Linked DNA regions of Homo sapiens: region 2 is linked to region 1. The links are contacts of gene promoters, found by promoter capture Hi-C in blood cells and fetal thymus (Javierre and others, 2016). All regions are on one chromosome and are shown on one strand. Each heading gives the region's core, a stretch centred on a gene start or on the middle of the fragment in contact. The rest is flanking DNA. Distances are from core to core; before and after follow the strand shown. Region 1 holds the start of DUSP4 (dual specificity phosphatase 4). Region 2 has its middle 59 kb from the start of LINC02948.

Region 1 (4,488 bases), core at 234-2,733:
ATGGGGAGAGGGTGAGCTTGGGCGGGAGAGACCCGGCGGGTACCGGTGCCCTCGCTGCCTGGGTCGGGCTTCCACGCGCGCCCCGGAATGGAATACGCTACTCTGCAGCCTCCGAAACTGCGAGCGAGTCCTGTAACTCCCTTGCTCTGTGATTAATTCTCACTAACAAGACTTGGCAAGATGTCGGGCGAATGATTTTTGGCTTCTGCACGGTCCCCACCGCGTGCGTGCACAAACCCCCAGCCAAAAGCCGCCTCTGGGAAATTAAATGCAAAAGAGAAATGGGGATGGGGAGGGCTGCTACGTGACCAGGAAAAAGGGATGCCCAGAAACATGAATCGGACCCAGAGCTGCTGAAGTCCTTTCAAAAGGTCATTCTTTGCGGGTACATTTTCCAGGGTCCAGCTCCGCAACAAATGTGGACCCTGTCATTTCCTGAAAGGATAATTCACAACTATGCAAGATAGGGTGAAGACGTTTCCCAAACCCGAAAACCTTGTTTTTCCCCCGACCAGGGTTAAATAAACATCTTTTAGGAAGCGTGGACAGGAGCGCAGCCTGCTCTCCTCCCTCGGAACACCATTCCGGCAATTAATGCCTCCCTTTGGGTAGTAAAGCAACAAACCCCACACCTCACTCCGATCCTGGGCTTCGGGCGGGAGGACTTTCTCTTTCATCTTCCAAGCAGGGGGTTGCCCACGTTCTTGGGGAAGCTATAAAACTGATTTAATGGCTTTAGATGAAAATCGATCACGCTAATGCATACGCTAACGTCTCAGGAATCGCATATTCAGAAAGGACTGGCCGGGCCGAAAGCGCACGGGGAGTCTGGGGCTAGGAGGTGTCAGGCCCCGCTGGGTGGGCAGCAGCGCTCCGGTCCCCTCTCCACTTGGGTAACCGGGAAAAACCTACGGGGCTGTCACGCGGGGAAGCGCGAAGGTGCCAAGGGATGAAAGCTCAAACCCGAGCCCTGGCCTCCTCAGCCGGCTATTTCCTTTGGCGCCGCCCGCCTAGCGGCGGGGTGCAGCGGCGGCACAGGTGCCGGTGTCGGGCTGGAGGCGCGGCGCAGGCTGGGCCCGCGGGTAGACGGCGAAAGGCGCCGCGCGCTCCATTCACAAAGTCCGGGCGCTGCCCGCCGCTGGCGGCGGGTCGGAGGCCGCCTCCCTCTTCCTCTCGGCCTCGGTTTTATGAATGGGCCTGATGGCGAGCACCCGGCGCCCTGTTTACTCCGCTCTTTGTGACGTCGAGTTCCCGTGACCGGGAGCCAGCGGCCGCGCTCCATTCAAGCTCCGGGGAGGGGGTGGGAGGAGGGGCCCGGAGGGGGCGGGGAGTCAGCGCGGGGGGCGGGGGACAGCGCGGGGGGCGGGGGACGGCGCGGGGCCCGGAATGGAACGGGGCGGGGCCTGGCGGGGTAGTACCTAGCGCCCCCTCCCCCGGGAGCGCGGAGGAGCATTAATAAACCTCTAAGCCGAGGAGAAAACTCTGGCTGGGGCAGTGCGCTGAGCGCCGGAGGAGCGTAGGCAGGGCAGCGCTGGCGCCAGTGGCGACAGGAGCCGCGCGACCGGCAAAAATACACGGGAGGCCGTCGCCGAAAAGAGTCCGCGGTCCTCTCTCGTAAACACACTCTCCTCCACCGGCGCCTCCCCCTCCGCTCTGCGCGCCGCCCGGCTGGGCGCCCGAGGCCGCTCCGACTGCTATGTGACCGCGAGGCTGCGGGAGGAAGGGGACAGGGAAGAAGAGGCTCTCCCGCGGGAGCCCTTGAGGACCAAGTTTGCGGCCACTTCTGCAGGCGTCCCTTCTTAGCTCTCGCCCGCCCCTTTCTGCAGCCTAGGCGGCCCGGGTTCTCTTCTCTTCCTCGCGCGCCCAGCCGCCTCGGTTCCCGGCGACCATGGTGACGATGGAGGAGCTGCGGGAGATGGACTGCAGTGTGCTCAAAAGGCTGATGAACCGGGACGAGAATGGCGGCGGCGCGGGCGGCAGCGGCAGCCACGGCACCCTGGGGCTGCCGAGCGGCGGCAAGTGCCTGCTGCTGGACTGCAGACCGTTCCTGGCGCACAGCGCGGGCTACATCCTAGGTTCGGTCAACGTGCGCTGTAACACCATCGTGCGGCGGCGGGCTAAGGGCTCCGTGAGCCTGGAGCAGATCCTGCCCGCCGAGGAGGAGGTACGCGCCCGCTTGCGCTCCGGCCTCTACTCGGCGGTCATCGTCTACGACGAGCGCAGCCCGCGCGCCGAGAGCCTCCGCGAGGACAGCACCGTGTCGCTGGTGGTGCAGGCGCTGCGCCGCAACGCCGAGCGCACCGACATCTGCCTGCTCAAAGGTAAACGAGGGCTCCGGGCGCTAGCTGGAGTCGGGGAGATGGAGGGGGTCTTGGCGGCCTGCGCCTTATTGGCACGGGAAGGAGTCCCCGGCGTGATTCGTGGTTGCGGGGATCCCCGCGCGCCCCTTTGTGTGTGTTGGTGTGTAGGGGTTTGCAAGGTTTCTGTGCAAGTGCGAGGTTCAAGTCCTCAGGGAAAGTGCGGACGGGTTTCTCCGGTCACCTGCAATTCCGCACCGTCCTAGCGAGGCCCCGTTTATTGACATTAACGGTCCTAGCCTCGAGGATGAAGCGACTCCTCTGCGCGGTCCATCTTGAGTCCCGGGAACAGTTTCCAAGTACCACGGGGCGCGTGGGGACAAGATAGGCCTGTTGGTTTGGCGTGCTGGGGCCCTACACTGAGCCGGACCGGGAGAATCCCAGAGGTGGAGAAAAGGTGAAGAGGGGTGGGCGCCGAGGTACAATTGGCCTTGCCAGTTTCACTGAAAACAAGACCCTGGCAAATGCAGAAAGGGAGATTGGGTTGCACACACTGTGTAGAGCGATCTGTATCTGCGTTCCCGCTGCCCAACTCCAAGCTCAGCTTGGAAGGTGGCCAATCCCCGTCCCGGGCTAGATCCAGGCTCTGGGAGCGGGAGGCTGAAGGACTGGGTATCTGGGGGACGCCGGGCGGAACCGGTCCTCTAGCGCCTGCAAATCCGGGCAGCGGAGAATGATCACCTTTTGTTCAGCCCGGATTTTCGACTATCTGATGGCGGCGCGTGCCGGATTTTAGCGAGCCCTGGCGAAACTCTCGGCGGCGAGACTGTCTTGTCACATTTGGTAGTCGGAAATCCTGGAAAAATCGCGTGCTGTCCGAGTCCCTGGAGGGACCTGGCGCCCGCCACACCTGCAGGGCAGGGTGGGTCCGCGGCCCTCGGGCTAGGGAGCGGGCAGGGCGCGTGGGGTCCGGGCGCCCCCCGCCGCGCTGCGCCTCCGCCTCCCGCCGCCGCATTCCGCGCATTCTTCCGCGCGGGTAGGGTCTGCGCTTCCGAGCCCGGTAGGCAGTTCAGACCCCCCCACACCCATCAAAGAGCCGCTCCTCCCCCCCGCAGGCGCCTTCGCCGCCTCCCTCCCTTCCTTTCCTTTCCGCTCCTCTTCCGACCTGTCCACCCGGGAGGAAGGGAGCTGGAAAGGGGGCGGAAACCTCTCCCCTCCAAAAAGCACAACAAAACTGTTCAGTGCGGAGGAGCCGGGTTCGCCCCTGCCGGACAGCGGGGGGCTTTGTTCCCCGCAGTTGTTTCCTGCCCATTTGACCTGTCAGCTGCTGGGGAAACGCTGCTGTTGACCTTTGGTTGAACTGCTAAGGCGATTTTGCTGATTTTTCTTTCTTTTTCCGCGAGGGCTGTCTTTTGCTCCTCCAAATGAGCCCAGTCCCCCTCCCTTCTCCCCAAAGCGCTCCAAGAGAAAGTGCCAGGAAGGGGCTTGTCCCGGAAGGCCTGGCGGCTGAGCGGGGCCAGGTCCTGGTTAGGCCACCAGGGTGGGCGTCCGCGCCATTGTTTGAGCTTGTCGGCGCTGGTGGGAGAGATGAGGGCAATTCCTCTGGGACGCAAGTCCCCTCGAATGGCCGGGGCTGGCCGGGATGTTCCCCGCACGGCGCTGCCCTCGAGTCCCCCCGATGGAGAGCGCGGGCGCGCCTTCCTTCGCTGGCGTCCAAACCCGGGACCAGCTAGAACACAGCAGGGCTGGGACTGGGTTCCAGCCCCACGTGGAGTCTGGATTTGTTTTGTTGTGTTTTGCTTTCCTTCCTGGAAGAAATCCCGAGGGGACCGCCCTAGAGCGGCAGCTCCAGGACCTCGGCCCTTGGGCTTCCGGGGGTGCAGCCACTTAGGCCCCGCTCCCGGGGAGAGAGGGATTATTTTTTAAGATTTATCCCCAGGGCGCGCGGCATTTCCCTGTCCCTCGTGAATCCCGTTGAGAGTCCTCCCTCCCCAACCTCCTCCATTTCCCCAGCCAGACCGATTCGAGAGCCCTGGAGATTCTGGGCGAGGCTAGTGACTGGGTAGTACAGGCCTCTAGGTAAAATGACAGCCCTCTGGTGGGTGGCGAGGTGCCTGGCCAACATAAGAGAAGTACTTTAAGGGCTGTTTCCTCCTGGAGCCTGCACTGCCTCTCGTAGTCGGCCCCGACG
Region 2 (5,021 bases), core at 594-3,093, 270 kb before region 1:
CCATTGCTCACAATACCGCCTAAGCTCTACCTCCTGTCAGATCAGCAGAGGCATTATTAATAGATTCTTATAGGAGTGTGAACCCTATTGTGAACTGCACATTCAAGGGATCTAGGTTGCATGCTCCTTATGTGAATCTAATGCCTGATGATCTGTTACTGTCTCCCATCACCCCCAGATAGAACCATCTGGTTACAGGAAAACAAACTCAGGGCTCCCAGTGATTCTACATTATGGTGAGTTTTGTCATTATTTCATGATATATTACAATGTAATAATAATAGAAATAAAGGGCACTATAAATGTAATGCACTTGAATTGCCCCAAAACCATCCTCCCCCTGCCCCATTCCCTGGAAAAATTGCCTTCCACGAAACTGTTCCCTGGTGCCAAAAAGGTTGGGGACCATTGGACGGGTGCAGTGGCTCACGCATGTAATCCCAGCACTTTGGGAGGCCGAGGCGGGCAGATCACAAGGTCAGGAAATTGAGAACATCCTAGCGAACACTGTGAAACCCTGTCTCTACTAAAAAATACAAAAAACTAGCTGGGTGTGGTGGCAGGCGCCTGTAGGCCCAGCTACTTCGGAGGCTGATGCAGGAGAATGGTGTGAACCCGGGAGGGGGAGCTCGCAGTGAGCTGAGATAGTGCCACTGTGCTCCAGCCCGGGCAACAGAGTGAGACTCCGTCTCAAAAAAAAAAAAAAAAAAGGTGGGGGACCACTACATATAAGTACACATATAATTACACAACAGATATATGTACATATATATATATACACACACACACACACACACACACACACAGTATATACATACACACATACAGGTAATAATTATTTGCAAGCTCCCATCATCCCAAGCTACTTCTGTGGTTTTCCTGATCTTAGTTCATAAATCACTGCTTAGCCAGCCTCCCAAGCTAGATTTTTCAAACTCATATTTGACTCCCCTCTCCCCATACCTACCACATTAACTCAGTCATCAACCCTATCATTTCTACCCAGAAATGGCTCTCCTTTCCCATTTGTCTCCTTCACCCTATTCCTATCTCACACCATCCTCATGACTAATGCTATTATCTATTTTTCTTTATAAAATATACGTAGTACATTTAAGCTCCTAAAAATAAATGAAAAAAATGATCAAGAACTAAATAGAAAAATGGGCAGATAATTTTTTAAATCATAAGATGGATACAAAATAATAAACTTAAGAGACACACAATTTCGCTTCATAAAGTAATTGAAAGTAAAACCTCACTGTGGGCCGGGTGCAGTGGCTCATGCCTGTAATCCCAGCACTTTGGGAGGCTGAAGCGGGTGGATCACCTGAGGTCACGAGTTCAAAAGCAGCCTGGCCAACATGGTGAAACCTCATCTCTACGAAAAATATAAAAGTGAGCCAGGCGTGGTGGCACACGCCTGTAATCCCAGCTACTCAGGAGGCTGAGACAGGAGAATCGCTTGAACCGGGGAGGCGGAGGTTGCAGTGAGCCGAGATGGCGCCATGGCACGCACTCCAGCCTGGGAGACAAAATGAGACTCCGCCTCAAAAAAATAAATAAATAAAAATTAAAACTTCACTGAAATAGCATTTGTCACCCAAACATTGGCAAAAATCCGAAGTTTTCTAGCCCACTGTGTGAGCAACGATGTTGACTGAGAAAGAGGCGCCTTCAGACACTAGCGGTAGTAGAAATTGCAACCTCCGTGGAGGGCAGTTTGGCAAATTACAAATGCTGCCTCTGCCCAGTGCCCCAGCATTTCCACTTCTGGGAATGTCCCTTATGGATATGAGTGAAATGACACAAACGTTTATGCAGCATTTTTATAACGGAAATAACTCAAATGCCTACCATTATGGATCTTTTAAAAACAAATGACAGCAAATACAATCAATGGAACACTATGCAGCTGTTAAAAAAATAGGGAAGCATTTTATAAACAGTTATAAAAACAACCTCAAAAATAAGTTCTTATGTCACAAAATATCAGGGTGTGATTATCTTTTTAGCACCCCCATATATCTGCTTCTGTATGCACTGACCATTCCGAAAAGGTAAGTAAGGAATGGGTGATGCATATCTCCTCTGGAGATGGCTGGGGGTCAGGGACAGGAGGGAAATTACACCTTCAGCACCTTTTTGTGCCTTTTGCATTTTGAATCATATATGTGAATCAACAACGGAAAAAAATTAAAACGCGATTATGGTGTTTCTCTGTTAAGCACATGCACATGTGTGTGCTCTCTCTCTCACACACACACACACACACACACACACACAAACACACACTTCTGTTAGATACCCCACAGCCTGCCAGATACATGACAAATTATTTAGAGTGCCTCACCAGGCCCTTCCCAGTACAACCCCAGCTGATCTCCCAGCCAATCTCAATTTCCCAACCTCTCTCCCTCCACCCTGAATTTCTCACCCTCTTTCCAACCCAGGCAGAGGGAGGGTGATGAGGTGTCATGAAAAAAATGAAGACATTGAATCAGAAAAACTTAGTTATTTCTTCATAACTGACAGGCTCTGTGACCGTAACCACTCTGAACTTCAGTTTCTTCATCTATCAAACGGGAAGAATGATGTCCACTTTCCTGAGGTTCTTGGAAACATGAAACGAGATAACGCTTGCAAAGCATTTGATACATACGGCGCATTCAACCAATGCTCCCTCCCTTCCACCTCCCTTTCCTATTTGTGCCTCTATCTTTGCTCAGTACTCTCCACCTGCCTGGAATCCCTTTCTCCTACTCCTCTTGGCAAACCCCACTCAGACTTTTTTTTTTTTTTTTGAGACGGAGTCTTGCTCTATTGCCCAGGCTGGAGTGCAGTGGCACTATCTCGGCTCACTGCAAGCTCTGCCTCCTGGGTTCACGTCATTCTCCTGCCTCAGCCTCCCGAGTAGCTGGGACTACAGGCGCCTGCCACCACGCCTGGCTAATTTTTTGTATTTTTAGTAGAGACAGGGTTTCACCGTGTTAGCCAGGATAGTCTCGATCTCCTGACCTCATGATCCTCCCGCCTCAGCCTCCCAAAGTGCTGGGATTACAGGCATGAGCCACCGTGCCCGGCCTCAGACTTTTAAGGTGAAATTCAATGTCATCACTGGTCCCTTGCTCTGCACTGTATCTCCTTTCTTATAGGATGTATCAAGCTAGATGTCATTTTCTGCTTCCATTTCTGTCTCTACTACCAGACTAGGAGCTCCACAAAAGCAAAAACTATTTTGCCTTTTTTTTTTTTTTTTTTTTTTTACCCCCAGAGCTTCGCAGAGCATCTAAGTTTAAAGAGCTGGTTCAAGTTCAGAAAACCACTAAAACAGAGAGTCCAGTTAGGGACTTCCTGCTTTCTTATCCATGCTCACCTGGCCCATTACTTTTGGCTGTTAACACTCTCATGGCATCTTGCTCCCTTGTATATTTTTCTACAAAAGGGAAATGGACTTTTAAACAGAAGGAAAGATTCATAAGATGAACACTTTCTTCATGACCATCCACCAGCTACCCATGCTGTGGAGAAAAGTTGCAGGTGGTAGAGTAATGGGAAGGTGAACATTTCTTTAGTGCATTTAACACCTGCTTGAAAAGCAAGAAGCCCTTGCCCAAGCTATTTCTTCATATCAAACCCTCATATAGCATGCTTGCATTTGTTAGCCATATAGCATTTTGTAATTTACTGTGGGGTTTAGCCTAAGCTTTTCTCAATTGATGAGAAAGCAAATGAAAGCAGAATTCTGAAGCCAAGAGGGGTCTAAAGTCAAGTCACCAGCATAGTGTTAAAGAATTCTTGGCCAAAGAGTGCAAGTGGTGTCAGAACATCTGACTCTGTCAAAATATGTGTCAAAATTCATGGCCCATTGCATCCCAAGGCAATCTGCACAGATGAGTTCCTGCTTTCCTTGATCTGAAATTCTTGTAGGAAGCTAACATATCATCCTGTAATAAATGCAATGAGAGGAGTGCTTATGGGAGCCTGACTCAGACTTGAGGGATCAAAGAGACTATGGCAGCTGTGATCTGAGGGTCTAGCAGGGTTGACCTAGGAGTGTGGACAGATGTGTGTGTGTGTGTGTTAGTGTTGGCAGGAGATAAGAATGGGCCTCACCATAAAGGGCCTTGGGAACCATGTCAGTTTATCCATTCAACAAATATTTATTGTGCTTTCATAATGCACTGTGATTGAAATATAACATAGGCTGGGTGCAGGCACCTTGGATGGGCCTGACTTAATCACATGAGCCCTTTAATTCTGGATAGAGAAGCCAGAGACAAAAGTTACCCGTGAAAGGGATTTGATGCAAGGGAGAGTCTGCATGGCTGGTTTTGAAGATGAATGATCTAGAAACAGCATGTAGGAGTTGAGAACGGTCCCCTAGTGGCAGCCAACAAGGAAACAAGCACCTCCGTCCTATACCCGCAAGGAATTCAACTCTGTCAACAACTTCCTTGAGCTTGGAATAGAACTCCAAGCTTCAGATAAGAACACAGTCTGGGCTACATGCTGATTTTTTCTTGTGATATCCTGAGCAGAGAATCCAGGCACACCATGTCCATATTTCTCACCTATAGAACTATGAGCTAATAAATGGGTTTTGTGGGAAGCTGCTAGGTTTGTGATAAATTGTTATACAGCAATCAAAAGCCTATATATGATATTTCACCACAAATTCAGATTTGACCAATATTTGGACATGTCCTCATAGGTTAGGGATGTTCATATGTGCCATATTTTTAAATGTTCCCTTTAATCCTTCATGAACAATGGTACTCTTAGTTGACATCGCCAACATACCCCTTCTCCACCATGAAGCAGTTGTGCTCTTTAGATGGTATGCTCAAAATCCCCAGCTGAAATCCATTAGCAATTCCATCCCACCTGCTATGGTGGTTGGTATAGAGAATGTGTGACTGAGGCCTAAGATGAACAGTGCCTGGTATCCGGGCCAAGCCAAAAAATTGGTTTAGGCGTGAGTACATGATGTAAGTCAGTCCAGTCAGGATGATGTACAA

What was found. The method cuts DNA at HindIII sites, captures the fragments that hold promoters and counts their contacts. A CHiCAGO score of 5 or more calls a contact.
Region 2: a fragment that was not itself captured here is called in contact with the fragment with the promoter of DUSP4 in region 1 in 2 of 17 cell types (non-activated CD4 T cells and M2 macrophages); the score reaches 6.0 in non-activated CD4 T cells.

Annotation. Positions count from the first base shown.
Region 1 is chr8:29,347,679-29,352,166 of GRCh38, reverse strand. It overlaps DUSP4 (dual specificity phosphatase 4), which reads left to right and starts at 1,483. Exons shown (of 4, transcript NM_001394.7): 1 at 1,483-2,321. The coding sequence starts at 1,889. It overlaps LOC124901924 (a long non-coding RNA gene), which reads right to left and starts at 1,193. Exons shown (of 2, transcript XR_007060876.1): 1 at 633-1,193. RefSeq lists enhancers at 566-675, 716-785, 1,484-1,983, 2,306-2,455, 1,984-2,485 and silencers at 976-1,115, 1,306-1,625, 3,196-3,365. The HindIII fragment of the contact is 21,736 bases long and covers 1-4,488 here.
Region 2 is chr8:29,618,466-29,623,486 of GRCh38, reverse strand. No RefSeq gene overlaps it. Among named protein-coding and RNA genes, the nearest start is that of LINC02948, 59 kb to the right of the region's middle. The HindIII fragment of the contact is 3,731 bases long and covers 1-3,708 here.